Linked DNA regions of Homo sapiens: regions 1 and 2 are each linked to region 3. Evidence: promoter capture Hi-C in 16 types of primary human blood cells and fetal thymus (Javierre and others, 2016). All regions are on one chromosome and are shown on one strand. The core of a region is centred on a gene start or on the middle of the fragment in contact, and the rest is flanking DNA. Distances in the headings are between cores, read along the strand shown.

Region 1 (4,574 bases), core at 1,963-4,462, 910 kb after region 3:
ATATATACATATATTATGCAGCTATGTATTATGCAGATATATATTATCCATATATAGATATATAATACATATATTCAGATATATATTATACATATATACAGATATATATTACACATATATACAGATATATATTATACATATATACAGATATATATTATACATATATACAGATATATATTTAATATATACACAGATTATATATATATGTTTTGAGAGATGTGAATTCTGAACTAGTTCTTTAGATATAATAACTTGAAAATTTTAAAAATCAAAAATTTTGTGTTTAAAGCATGTATCCTAAAACAGTAAATATGAAGAAATTATGTATCTATTGCTACTTAAAAACAAGAGAAATGCTTACAACTGTCCAACAAACACTTTCAACAGATACATGCAAAAAATTATGGGCAATAATTTTTACTTTTACATATGTATTCATGTTTGATATCTAGAATAGAAATAGAGATTGCTGTTTTGGGGATTAACTTCACTTTGCTTTCACTTTAACTAGCCATACGCAGAGATTGAGGAAGGGATATATAAACCCCCAATGACACGATGGCTGATTTTGAATTGGCTGAATTCTACTAGATGTGTCCAAGTTAAATAACTTAGCAGAATTTAGCCATTTAAAAAATTTCACTGTTAATTTCATCTCAGGTTATTAGAATCAAAACTGTGAACGGAGAGTCCATATAAAGCTTAATTTTAATTTATATTTTTGTTATAATTTGGTTTTCAAATTCATCAGGCATTTGAGAACTGATGCTAAGCAGAGTCCTCATTTCATCACTGTAAGAGGTGAAGGTTTCCCAGGAAACGAAGCTGCCAGAAAGTTTCTTATATACTGGTTTGGCTAGACAGGGCACCGAGACAGAATGAAGGCATGCTATAGCAGAAGTGCAGCAAAGCACTATTCAGGGATGCCCAAATTGAAGAACTCTACTTGATTGATCTTGTGATGTACAGAATTATGAGGAATGAAAAATGGGGAATGCCAAGATCAAAGATAGAAAATGGTCAAAAAGATTCATGAAAAAGACACATCTTTAGAATCAGATAAATGAGATATAATTTTAACTTCTGGGAGCTTTCCCTATTAAAATGGGGGAAGCAACACCTACATTACAGAAGTATGGTAAGAATTAGAACTAAAACATCTGAAGGAAAATGGCTCAAGGCTTGGCATCTAAAAGGCATCTCAAATATAAATAATAACAGCAGCCAACGCTAATTGAATGCTTACAAGGCACTGAGTACTGATTCTCATTTTAGCTCGGTCTGTACTATTATCTCTTTTGTGCAGTTGAGAAAGCTCAGATGAAAACTAATGAATAAACCACTCAAGGTCATGCTGCTGTTAGAGGCTAGAGGCAGCTCTAGAATCCCAGACATCTGACCCTGGGGCTATCTAAATAAGCGATATTACTGTGTTAAACTGTATGACGTATCACACAAATGGAAAGTACCCTACTAGGCTCCATTATATTAATTATGAATTGACTTAGTGAGGGCTGAGGCTTAAAATGTCAATTGGGGTTAGGGATTAGGATGTAGTTTTCAAGGTAAATAGTTCTCCTGGTGTGGTCTTGGGACCAGTACCATTAGCATCACTTGAGAACTTGTTAGAAATGCAAGTTCTTAGGCTCCCACTCAGGCCAATTAAATCAGAAACTCTGGGGGTTGGGCCAAGAAATCTGTGTTAACGAGATCTCCTGTAGCTTCTGATGCACTGTCATTTGGAAACCACTGCCCTAGGTCAAACCATGCCATGATAGTTCCCACATCACGTCATGGTTTGATCTGGACTTTAGGAAAGTGACTGGTGGCAGGCTTGAAGCATAGAATGCACAGGAGGCTTACCTCAATTGTTCAGATGGGAAATACTGAAGGATTAATCCTGGATATTACTAATGAGTCTTCAAAGTCAGAGGGATAAGTGACAAGAAATAGCAAAGCCTCGTGCTACAGCCTGAATATTTTTGTTATCCCAAAATTCCTGTGTTGCTAATCCCCAGTGCAAGTCTATTAGGAGGTGCGGTCATTAAGAGGTGATTAGGTCATGGGGGTGGAGCCCTCTTGAATGGGATTAGTGCCCTTAATAAAGAGACCCTGGAGATCTGCCTTCCTTCTTCCACAGTGTGAGGGCACAGCAAGAAGGTAGCACCTATGATCTAGGAAACAGACCCTCACCAGACACGGAATCTGCCAGTTCCTTGATCTTGGACTTCCCAGCCTCTAGAACTGTGAGCAATGAATTTCTGTGGTTTATAAGCCACTCAGTCTATGGTATTTTTTATAGCAGTCTGAATGGATTAAGACACATGGTAACTGACTGAGTACAATAAACAGGAGCAGTAGAAGAGGAAATCATTGAAGAAAATATGAATATCTCTATCCTGAGAATCAGGTGGTTGTTGATGTCATTGATTAATACAAGGGGAAAATAAGGAAAAAAAAAAACAGGGGAAGTATATATTCAAGTTCTTTTAGTCATAACTATGGTCTTAGAGCAATTGTTAAGTTCTTTTCAAGTTGTAGGTCAATTTAAATCTATTCTTTTTGTCTCACATAACCCTCCCAATTGTCTGCTTCTAATTGTTTTTGAAAATGTGTAAAACATTGAACAATTTTTCTTTTCCTCAACCTTTAATGAATCTGTTCCCCTTTTCCATCTCCATCACAAGATTTGGAGTAGGAGGAAAGTTTGTAAAAGCCTGGGTCCTGCACTACTATCTTCCCAAAGGTGAGAGAAGGAGCCTGGTCTAATGAGAAAATTACGGGAAAAATTTTCACCTGACGTATGCTGTACATCTAATTAATCACCTTTCACTTTTTTAGATGTTAGGGAGTTTTCTAGTTTTCCCTCATTATAGTTTCCTCATCAGAAAAATGGGGATGAGGATATTTGAGATTACATAAGAAAGTGTTTGAAAACTACAAAATGCCAAAAAAGTCCAAGCTAGTGCTATCAGTAAGTTTTTAGAGCACATAACTAAAATCAAGAGAGATCTTACAGGTAGGAAATAGATTGTGGGGTAGGTGAATTACTTTCACAGAAAATCTACTTTCTGGCTGGGCGGGCGCAGTGGCTCACGCCTGTAATCCCAGCACTTTGGGAGGCCAAGGCAGGCAGATCACCTGAGGTCGGGAGTTTGAGACCAGCCTGACCAACATGGAGAAACCCTGTCTCTACTAAAAATACAAAAAAAAAAAAAAAAAAAAAATTAGCCAGGTGTAATGGCACATGCTTTTAATCCCAGCTACTCAGGAGGCTGAGTCAGGAGAATTGCTTAAACCTGGAAGGAGGAGATTGCGCTGAGCCAAAATCACACCATTGCACTCCAGCCTGGGTAACAAGAGCAAAGCTCCGTCTCAAAAAGAAAAAAAAGAAAAGAAAAGAAACAAGAAAAAAAGAAAATCTCCTTTCTTTTTTGCCACATTGTCTTTGAGGAAACACAAGAGTTTTTAGATTTTCCTGCCTTTGGTAGGTGTACCCTGAACAATAAAGAAAACAACAGGTGAAACCCTTTCAAAACTGGCATTTTTAGTAATGGTATGTAAAAAATAATCGGTCTATGACCTCAGCTTTTGCATCTATTCTCATTATTAGCGTTTGACCTCTTGCGGGGACTTGTGTCTGGGCACTTTAGTTCAAAAGAAAAAACTCTCATGAGAGAAAGGTTCGTGGGGTTTGGGGAGGAGAATCACAGATTCCACAGTGAGTTCCTTCTTGTAAACTGTTTTATAGTTAGAAACTTTTAACAACCAAATTAGTTATTGCATCAATGTAACAGAAAAATAGTACTTTCTATTTTTAGTGAATCTGCAAATTCGCTAATCTTTAATAAATGTGTTACTGGAAAGGTGTCCCAATCCAGACCCCAAGAGAGGGTTCTTGGATCTTTCACAAGAAAGAATTCGAGGTGAATCCATACAGTAAAGTGAAAGCAAGTACTAAGAAAGTAAAGGAAGAAAGAATGGTTACTCCATAGGCAGGGCAGCCCCGAGTGCTGCTGCTAGTTGCCCACTTTTATGGTTATTTCTTGATTAAATGTTAAACAAGGGGTGAATTATTCATGCCTCCCCTTTTTAGACCATATAGGGTAACTTCCTGATGCAGCTATGGCATTTGTAAACTGTCATGGGGCTGGTGGGAGTGTAGCAGTGAAGACGACCAGAGGTCACTCTCATCGCCATCTTGGTTTTGGTGGGATTCGGCTGGCTCCTTTACTGCAAACCTGTTTTATCAGCAAGGTCTTTATAACCTGTATCTTGTGCCGACCTCCTATCTCATCCTGTGACTTAGAATACCTTAACCATCTGAGATTGAAGCCCAGTAGGTCTCAGGCTCATTTTACCTAGCCCCTATTCAAGATGGAGTTGCTTTGGTTCAGACACCTCTGACAAATGGATTCAAAGAATTATCAAAAAAACTAAATAATTTTACTAGTACAGACATATCTATTAATTCTAGTTATTCTTCTAATAATTAGAACTAAAATAACTCATGCAATGTTCACATAGAAACACCAACCTTTAATCCCCATGTCTAGTGCCATATTTAATGACTA
Region 2 (4,893 bases), core at 620-3,119, 870 kb after region 3:
CCAATTAAACCGTTCTCTTCATAAATTACCATGCCTCAGGGATTTCTCTATAGCAATGCAAGAACATCCTAATACATTTGGTAAATATGGTTGGAGTTCTAACCAAGTATTGGGATGCTGTTAGCCAGTCCTTGCAATAGACTCAATAAGGTTTCTTTATTTTGCCAAGTCAGATTGAGGTTACTCAATCTATCAAAGGTGAATACTTGTTTGAGCAAATAGTGAGCCCTGGGCTTGGGCATGTGTGCCAGTGATTAGAAAGAAACCTGTAATGCCAAAAGAGGAAATCAGTGGCAATGTAAGGAGAAAGTAACGGGATCAAAGAGGATGATGCCGATGTCCATCATACAAGGCTCTTAACAAAACTATAGGTCACATAAACAGGAGAGTTCGGAGGTATTTATGAGCACAAACTAACAGGTTAAATATTTTATGGTCTATCCATAATTTAGAATAATACGCAGTTATTAAGAATCATTTTTTCAAGAATATTTACTATTCCTAAGAGTGCATTCCCAGTTAAAAGGGGAAAATTATCATTAAAACTATTATAAAATGATCCTGAATTTATAACTTGTAGCAAATATAATAAATACATGATAAGACTTTATATTGTTTTATAAATAAAAAGAGGAAAGAAGTTAATCAGAATATCAGAATTATTGGTAATTTGTTATCTTCTTTATATAGTTCTGTATTTTTTACATTTTCTATAATAATATGAAGTACCTTATATTTATGATCACAGAAAATAAATGCCATCAAATATAAGATGGCCATAGTGACAAACTCAGTTAATACCTAAAAACAAGTGAATTATATGTCTTGTAAGTTAGATATCACATGGATAACATGTAAAATTGCACTTATAATTTGATTTAATGGTTTATGTTCTAGTATATAAAATAGTACAGAATGTTAAATATACATGAATAGAAAATGATATAAGAATTTAACATCTAACTACCTTTACGAAAGTAGTACCATTTCCCCCATTTCCCTCTTATAGTACAAACCAATCATTCAAGCATACTTTTAAATAGCATTTCTTGTATTTGAAAAGTTATTGAGTAATCAAACAGTGACCTTTCGTACTCCACCAAGAAATGCAATTCAGCTTTGTATAGCTTCCATACTAATCAATATCCTATTATGATCACAGACGAGATTTTTACAACTGAGACACAGCAGCTAGAGTACCAGATACGCTTTTGTTTTCTCTAATGCCAGAAATTTTACGCCTTTGCATAAGAAACCATTTTAAGTAGGAACATTGCATTATTTCTCTTTTGAACAGAGCAATTAAGTTTTAGGTTCTATCATAATGCTATGAGAATAGGGTGTATTAACCATCATAGAGCCATTACCTCATAAGACTTATCTTTATAAAGAATATGTGAATCTCCTTTCATCTTGCTTATTTATTCTGAATGGGTGTGTAAAGATTGATGTGTAGCATACCATTCATAAATCAGACTACAGGAACGCCAAGAGATACTCACATCTAGAGCTGATACTATTATTAGGCTCCACCAACTGATTATCTAATACAGTATTTAGTCGATTAGTTCATTAATAATGATCAAACCGGTTGTGTACATCAATACAAATATATTTAAAATACTTATACGGCACTTCAAACTCTAACTCTTTTAGAAGTACAATCCAGGCAAAGGGTTGGCTGCTGATTTTAGCCTGCATGGGCTTCCAGGGCAAAGCCAGATCTATTAGAGGTTATGGCACAAACTATCAGTTGACTTACTGATGAATTAATATCTACGTTGAGAGGATCAGGGACAACTAATTTTAAATATCTCTTTGAACATGTATATAGCCAAAGATTTATAATCATTTCTTACATTACATTTTTATGCATTAGAAAACTTACCGTAATAAATAAATATAAATATCAGGGAGAGAAAGAAGATAGAGGATTACCACTACCGCCACCATGACCCAGGGGGATATTTTGTGAAAACTCTCGTTCTACTGCTAGCTAAATGAACCAAGACAGTAAATCCACAAAGACTTAGACATCATCACTAGAAACAAAGGTTGAATTTCAAAAGCATTATTGGCTCTTCTAGCTGCTATGTAAGTTCCAGGGGAAAAAAATCCTAATGACTCTTACTATATATGGCATTCAAGGAAAATAAAATATTTTCCATAGACTAAAGAAGGGCCATATATCTATTCTGTATACTCATTTGTCTAGTATGTGTTTCTATGGCCTTTCATTACAATAAACTCTTGATATTTTGGTTTGGGGCTTATTATCCAAAAGTGAGCAAGAAAGCAAAACTACAAAGTTATGTCATCCTGACTTTGAAGAGGTTTACTTTCTGTTTTGACGTCTATTGAATCAATGGCATCAGCCTCTTTAAAAGTACGCTAAGCCAATATTGAATCTTGTAAGGGAATTGCATAGATCTCTTAGATGGTCCTAATAGAGGCTTGCCCATTTGAGTCATGGGACTAAGGAAGAAATCCAGGGGCAGTAGCGCAGAATCATTATTGGGGATTATGTTCCAAAAAAAGGTATTAAAAAAACTAATACTAATAGTGCTTGCTATAAAATATTGAAAAAAACTCTAATACTAATAGTGCTTGCTATAGGCTGTATCTGTTCCCCAACTTCTTTATACATATTATCATTTTTTAAAATCTTCACAGCTATGCTGTGGAGTAGGTATTATTATCCCCATATTACAGATGAGGAAACTGAGGCACAGAAACAAATAATTTGCCCAACATTACATATTCAGGAAGTGCCTGAGCCATGTGTTTGAACTTGGGCAGCCAGTCTTCAAAACCCCCAAGCGCATTGCTTTCCCTCTGTTTAGAAACAACGTGGCAAGAAGTGAACTACCTGCTCCTCATAGTCACTGGTTCCTTTAGACAGCAGAAATTTTCTCTCCAAAGATAATGACTCAAGGGGAAATTTTAACATCAGCAAATAGGGCTTCAATTTGACTCCTTTTATCATCAGGAGTGTGATCTAGTGCCCTCTAGAGGGCAAAAGGGGAGATCATGAGCAATGCAGATTTTTTTTATGAACATAAGCAGAAAATTTGCATTAAGACAATATAGAATTGGAAGTTTGAAAAGCCTACATTCTTATTATTAAATCTCTCTATTTAAAAAATTTTTGTAAAGTTACTTGTCTTCCTGTAATATGGAAATGATAAACTTCTGGATGTTGTACAAATGAACTGCAGCCAAGATGATAATGTGAAAATATGGAACATAAGATAGTACATAGTAAAATCTTAAAATGACAAAAGTAATCATTTAGGTAGCCCAACTTTCACAGCTGCATGATTTTAAGACACCAACAATTACTTGAAGCAGGCTCAAATAAAAGAGAAGATAATTAGTGAAAAACCCATTGTTCTTTTGCAGGGAGACTTGGTATCACTCCAATCAACACAAAATTAGGTCATCTGCATTGCACATAAAGATACTCACCAAGCACCAAAAACCTGGCCTGGTTTTGAAGAAATCTGATTTCTCTACAAACCAGTGCTTTCTAGATGTGAAAATAAAGACTTTTTTTTCTCTAAGGCAGACAAAATATATAAATAATATTTTAGATAATTGGTACTCATTAAATACTTGATAAATTAGTGAATGAATTCTGGTTCTAGTTATACTAAAGGTCAAATACGCTTTAGTTTTTTTATGTATTGTCTAACTTCTCACCCATCTTTGTTGAACTAATGAAATGAAGATATCCATCATGATGTAACTGTGAGCTGGGAGGATCTAAATTACCTTCATCTGGCACCATTCCAATATACTATAAATGAGGTAATTGTCCTTGACTATAAAATTTGCATTTTCAAGACTTAATTGCTATCATTACATCTTTTTTGTAATTCTATTAATTTAACTGAATGGAGCGGTTGGTTTTATGGTTAAAAATTTGCATTAAAACATTGTACAACTAAATAGAATTTTAATATTTTTATCCAAAGTTCTATACAGTTATCCCAGAGGAGCTAAGTAATTTCACAAGAAAAAGTAGAGACCTGTCAACAAGCAGCTTTTACCTTCAGTGATCATTAACAGACCTTCAAGTCACCTGCAAATGCCTCATTCTGGGATTTGAGAAGCCACTGAGGCCATGCACTCCATGGATTCCTCCGACTTAATCATTAACAGGAAATCTATTAGCCATAGCCAAGGCATGGCTGGGTGCCCTTTCCTATGATCGTCTTGGTGTTTGAGGTGTTTCCATCTTATCCTCAGCTGAATGGGTCATTCTATATCTCCATGTGTTTTAGTTCAGTTGGAACATGCAGTCCTCGCTGCTCTCTCTCCTCCTGAGCAAGGTATTTACATGTACGTGTCTGATCTTCCAGCCACAGTTCATTGCACAGACTGGTTAGTAAAATGTTATAATTCTTCACTCCTACTGGAGGGGGCAGTTGAGAAAACTTTCCACCTTAGCCTTTGGAATCTTTGTGGTCACTTAACAATTATGCAGCCTTTTCTTAATAAATTTTAATGTATGTGCAGAACTTTTCTAGTCAATTAACACAAGCATTTTCTTAAGTAAAGACACAGAAAATTGCAGTTAATGAAATTGACATTTTACTTAACAATTCTCCAACCCTCTAGACCTTTGAAAACTACCAGCATCTTGGTTTTTGGACAACTGAGTTTGGTTAAAAATCAGAAAAGGACTGGGGCAAAGCTTCATACAATAAAGTTTGGAAGGAGGGGTAAAAACTGAGAAGAAGCCTTTGTTTTGAAAAATTTTGCAGTGATGGTGGATTTTCCTGACTTTACTAGCCAGCTGTGAGGATGAGTGCACTCGTGTACCTTCTGATACCACTTAGTTCAGAGAAAGATGGCAAATATTTGCAGAAAGTGGATAAGGAAATGTCA
Region 3 (5,103 bases), core at 250-2,749:
GCGCAGGGGCGGAGATCTTGACTTCACTCGAAACCAGAAATTGGGTTTATGTGAACGATGTGTCACCCGCTCCCTCCTCCCTTTTCTTTCTGAAGATTATTTTAAATCGTTCTCCTTTCAGGCCCCCCACCCCGGTAGATGGGGACGGGGTGACATCCCACGGGTACTGGCTCTTCCCTGGGGGGGTCCTGTCGCGCTAGAGGAGGGGCGCAGGGACCCCACGTCAGACCAGTCGCTTTGTTTTCGAGGCTGGGGGCGAGCTTTGCGGGCAGGTAGGAATGAAGCCGAACCCCTCAGTCTCATAGGACAATTCATACTGTACTGGTCTGGGCTTTGGCCGGAGGCTTGGGCATTTCACTTTCGCAGAGGCCGAAACCCAGCTCCAGGTGTGGGCGCCCTCGGCGGGCGGGGTCCGAACCTCCGTGCGGCTCTAGGTGCCGACTGGATGGGGTGGGTGGCTAGGTGGGGGATGAACTTGCACCCCTAGAGGGATCCTGTGGGGGCAAGTGTGAATGCGTGTGTAAGCGAGGCAAAAAAAGATGAGAGAGAGAGGAGAATAAAGTCAAAGCTGTTTCCACAACTTTGGCCGTGGTGGGCAAGCGCCGGAGCGGGGATTTCGGGTTTCGGAGCTGGCTTGGGGCAGTCTGATTGTGCCGGGGCTCTGTAGGGACACGCAGGAGGCGAGGTGCCGCTTGTTCTGACAACCTGGCGGGTAGACTGGCAAAGGCAGCACGCCGGGAGAGCTAGTCGTGTCATCTGGGGGGGCGTCAGGCGGGAGTGGCCCAGCCAGTCGGACGGGTTTTTGCCGGGAGCCGCGAGCCGGTGCCAGCGGCGCCCGGGCTGGGCCGCCTAGCGTCTGTGCGCGCCCCGGCCCGCATCCCGGCTCCCGATCCGGAATCCCCGGCCCCAGAGAGCCGAGGGCAGAGCGACGGTGGCCGGGGAGCGCACGGTGCCCCTGTCCGAGGAAAGCTCAAGAGGAGGCCGAGGAGAGGACCAGTGCAGCGAGCGGGCCGGTCCCGGGCAGGGCGCCGGGTCATGGAGGAGCCGCGCAGCAGCGGGCAGCCGAGTCCCGAGTCCCAGACTCGGCTGCGAAGCGGCGGAGCCCGCGGCCAGACAGGGCCGGGAAGCGCCTGCCGCGCCGAGAGCCCCACGAGCGCCCGGACGCGGTCCCAAGCAGCTCCTACCCGCTACGCACGACCCCCGCTGCATCCCGAGGTCTGCCCCAGCCTTTTAGGTCTGATTGTCCTCGCTCGCTTCCTCTCCCCTTCCCCCTCCCCCGCGGCCTCCCCCTCCGTGCGCTCCGGCTGGGCCCCCTCCCCCTCCCTCCCTCCCTTCCTCCCTCCCTCTTTCCCTCCCTTCCTCCTCTCGGGCTCTCCCTCCTTCCCTCCCTCCCCTCTCCCCACCCGGGGCTCCTCTCCCTCGCCCACACTTTCTTTCTCACACACGCACGCAGACACATTCTCCCTCTCTGCGCTCTCTCCTTCGGTCTCCCTCTCTGCCTCTTTCTCTTTCACTTTTGCATGCCCTGCAACCTTTTAAAATGTTGCCCCTTCCCTGTGATTCGCCAGACGCCGCGCCGCGGCCCCCCGCGCGCTCGCCCGCTCCCTCTCTCGCTCGCTTTTTGTCTCTCGCGCTCCCTCTCCCCACTCCGATTTGCTACACTGAGACTCCCGTCAATGGACTGCATTGAGAGCCGGCTCCGGCGCGAGTTGCCTCTCCGCTTCACGCTCGATTTCCAGGCATTCTTCCCTTATTAAGTATTCGTGTAATATTAATAGTCATGAATATCTGCTATTAGGAGGCTCCAGGAACGCTGCCCAGCGCGGTTATTAGAAGCTCAAGCGAAGCCGCCGCTAAGAAAAGAGGGGGAGACACGGATTAAGGAACACGCACGCACCCACACACTCACACATACTTTTTCCTTTTTCCTTTTTTGGGGTTTTTCATTTTTAAAGAACTTTGAATCATAACCAGTCGCGGCAGGATAGAGACCGTGGGTTCGACCAGCTGAAGGCGCCGCGCGAATCGGTGGTTCAAGTTCGGATGGATCCGAGCCGGGCTCCCGCGCTCCGGGGAGCGTCGGCGCCGTGACTGGAGTCCTGGGTGGCGCGGGGCTCTCGGCGCCTTTTGTGTGGGGCGCGCTCGGGCGGCGGGGCAGCCGGGCGCTCCAGGCTTGCTTGTTTTTTTCCACCCTGACTCGTTACCCCAGACTCTTCGCAGATGTTAGTTCACAGTTTTTCAGCCATGGTGAGTCCCATCCCCACCCCCGTTGCTGTTTCTTTAGGAATTGGATTCTGGAAACCTGGTGCCGTGGAGCTGCCCGAAACCTCGGGTTTCACGCCCAGCTTTCCTTCAGGACACCCTCTCCATTTGCATCCCCCACCCCACCTTCCGCCTTTCTCTCGCTCTTTTCCATCCCTAAATCGAGTGCATTACCCCCTACCCCAGCCCCCGCTCGACCTCTCCGAGCACGCAGACCTACCTCGCCGCGGCTTCCCAAGGCGTGTTTCTCCCCACGTTCATCTTGATTTCCTTGAGTCTTCACTTGTCCCCGAGATGTTCTCAACATTTGATGCTTAAACTGTCTGCAGGAAAAGTGCAGCGCGGTGTGCCCCCTACCCTCGGGACCTGCGGCCGAACCGCCGAGGGTTCGCGGTCTCTGGAATCAACTCTCTTCGCTTGTTTTGCAAGGGAATTGCAATAGAGAAACCTAAAGTCAGGCGTTTCTTCTGCCCTTTGGGGCTGGGGTGGAAGGGGCGGGGGGGGGGGGCCACAGCCCCGGGGTGCACCTCTCTCTTTTAAACCCAATAAGGCTGAATCTTTCTATTTTAAACCTTGACTTGACGTCCCCCTTTCCCTATCCAAACCATAAATCGACTCTGTCGAGAAAAAGGCTCCTAACAGAGGAAGCGAAAAAGACAGACCCCGATCCTGCAGTTAAAACCTTCTTTAAGCTGGTAATTTAAACGTGTGTTTTTGTTACAGCCCCTCTGCGAAATATGTTTCTATTTAAGTAGTCATGAAACGGTAACAGTCTTTGAACGTTTATGATTTTTTTCTCTCCAAATAAATGGAAGAGAATAAACAATAACGCAGTGGCAGACAGGTTCAAATCGGGGGAAAAGAAAAGGCCGCTTCTGCTGTTTAGTATTTAGGAGGAATTTTAATTTTGCTTAAGAGAGATTTCACGCTGCAGTTTAATGGGCTGTGTTCCAGGAGACCCTTTTCTATCTTTTCCTCTCTTTGAAAGAAACCCCTAAATAGTCTCTTGTGCCCCCTCCATATACAGTTTCTCTGCGTTGTTCGGTCTGTTTCACTTGAGGGTATTTCCTGAAAAGAACTTAGAGCTGATTTTTTCCCGGCGGCCAGCCAACGGGAACGGGCGATTTCCCACGCAGACTTGTCAAGTGGATTTTGTGTGGATAGTTGTAGCTCGACGCCTGATTCCTTGTTCTTTACCTTTCCTCTCGCTCTCTTCTAGGACCGTCACGACGGCACCAGCAACGGGACGGCACGGTTGCCCCAGCTGGGCACTGTAGGTCAATCTCCCTACACGAGCGCCCCGCCGCTGTCCCACACCCCCAATGCCGACTTCCAGCCCCCATACTTCCCCCCACCCTACCAGCCTATCTACCCCCAGTCGCAAGATCCTTACTCCCACGTCAACGACCCCTACAGCCTGAACCCCCTGCACGCCCAGCCGCAGCCGCAGCACCCAGGCTGGCCCGGCCAGAGGCAGAGCCAGGAGTCTGGGCTCCTGCACACGCACCGGGGGCTGCCTCACCAGCTGTCGGGCCTGGATCCTCGCAGGGACTACAGGCGGCACGAGGACCTCCTGCACGGCCCACACGCGCTCAGCTCAGGACTCGGAGACCTCTCGATCCACTCCTTACCTCACGCCATCGAGGAGGTCCCGGTAAGAGGCCGCGCAACCAGCGCGGGAGGGAACACAGCCCCCTACTTACCTACCCCAGAAAGGATACCTGGAACATACAGTCGGTGGGCCCGGGTTCTCCCTAGTATTTCCTTATAAAAACATTTTATTCGGAGGCGGAGAGTGAGGGACGTTTTGAGGAACCACACAAAGTAGTTGCGAGTTCTACCCCAGAACAATGGTTTCTGGAGCTCCCTCAAACAATGCCTGCATTACCATTTCCACCAACACAGATAAATCAGACGAATGTCACCATTAACAATATCTTCCTCTCGACGACAGTAAACTGTCTCAATTGCTAAAAGATCTACTTCCATCGCTGAGTCTGGCGTGGAGATTTCTCCCTGTCCTGGGAATGATGTTAAATGCAACCAAAAGAGCTCATTAAATGTCCTCAAAATGTAAAAGGAAGTGTAAAAGACACACTAAGATCATTTTAACCGGATTTTATAAGCACAAGTGAAACCTAAAAGTTATGTGTACACCCTATCCTGATTAAAGAAAAACTAAGTAGCAAATCCAAGCAGAGGGACATTAAAATGCAGCCTTCTTCTTACTAGGGGTGCTAAGTGGTGACCTCATAAATCATTAGCTAGGTTCCCAACGCCTATCAGAACCTGCTACACTCCATATTAAATTAAATGTTTCGAGACTATTGGGTAATACATTATTTGAGTTCTAATTTAGTTATCAATAAATGCAGTTTAAAATGATTTCTAAATAAGCATGGCATTAGCACATTTACTATTTACAATGCAAACCAGGCTATTGATAATTTGAAAATACTTTCTGGAATTAAACTTAAACCAGTACCTCTGCTTCAATTCTATATATTTATGGTTTCCTCACAACCCTCCTGAAATGGAATTAGAGCAAGCCAATAATTTTATTAAAGCTGTAAAGGCTTCTGTTAAAGCTGCTTTTCTTTGGAGAGGAAATGTATCTGGATGTGATTTTTACTAAAATGCTATTTCAAATTACTGCATCAAATATTGCAGCAGTATGTCCGTTGACAGTTTAATGATTACTACATTAGATTGTAAGGAAAATGGTCAGATGAACTTACCTCCTTGCTTGGTGAATTTAAAACATTATTTAAGTTCCGTAGGAAAATAGAAAATTTATTACATCTCTCATTTGGCCCAGTTAGTCACTGAAATTTGTTGGTT

Evidence for each region. The method cuts DNA at HindIII sites, captures the fragments that hold promoters and counts their contacts. A CHiCAGO score of 5 or more calls a contact.
Region 1: a contact is called between a fragment that was not itself captured here and the fragment with the promoter of TFAP2A-AS1 in region 3, in 1 of 17 cell types (endothelial precursors). The highest score is 5.8, in endothelial precursors.
Region 2: a fragment that was not itself captured here is called in contact with the fragment with the promoter of TFAP2A-AS1 in region 3 in 3 of 17 cell types (M0 macrophages, M2 macrophages and M1 macrophages); the score reaches 8.5 in M0 macrophages.

Annotation. Positions count from the first base shown.
Region 1 is chr6:9,504,517-9,509,090 of GRCh38, reverse strand. No RefSeq gene overlaps it. Among named protein-coding and RNA genes, the nearest start is that of HULC, 850 kb to the right of the region's middle. The HindIII fragment of the contact is 5,017 bases long and covers 704-4,574 here.
Region 2 is chr6:9,538,827-9,543,719 of GRCh38, reverse strand. No RefSeq gene overlaps it. Among named protein-coding and RNA genes, the nearest start is that of TFAP2A-AS2, 860 kb to the left of the region's middle. The HindIII fragment of the contact is 5,665 bases long and covers 1-4,701 here.
Region 3 is chr6:10,408,714-10,413,816 of GRCh38, reverse strand. It overlaps TFAP2A-AS1 (TFAP2A antisense RNA 1), which reads right to left and starts at 1,499. Exons shown (of 3, transcript NR_033910.1): 1 at 1,450-1,499. It overlaps TFAP2A (transcription factor AP-2 alpha), which reads left to right. Exons shown (of 7, transcript NM_001372066.1): 2 at 3,482-3,916. RefSeq lists a silencer at 900-1,259. The HindIII fragment of the contact is 20,769 bases long and covers 1-5,103 here.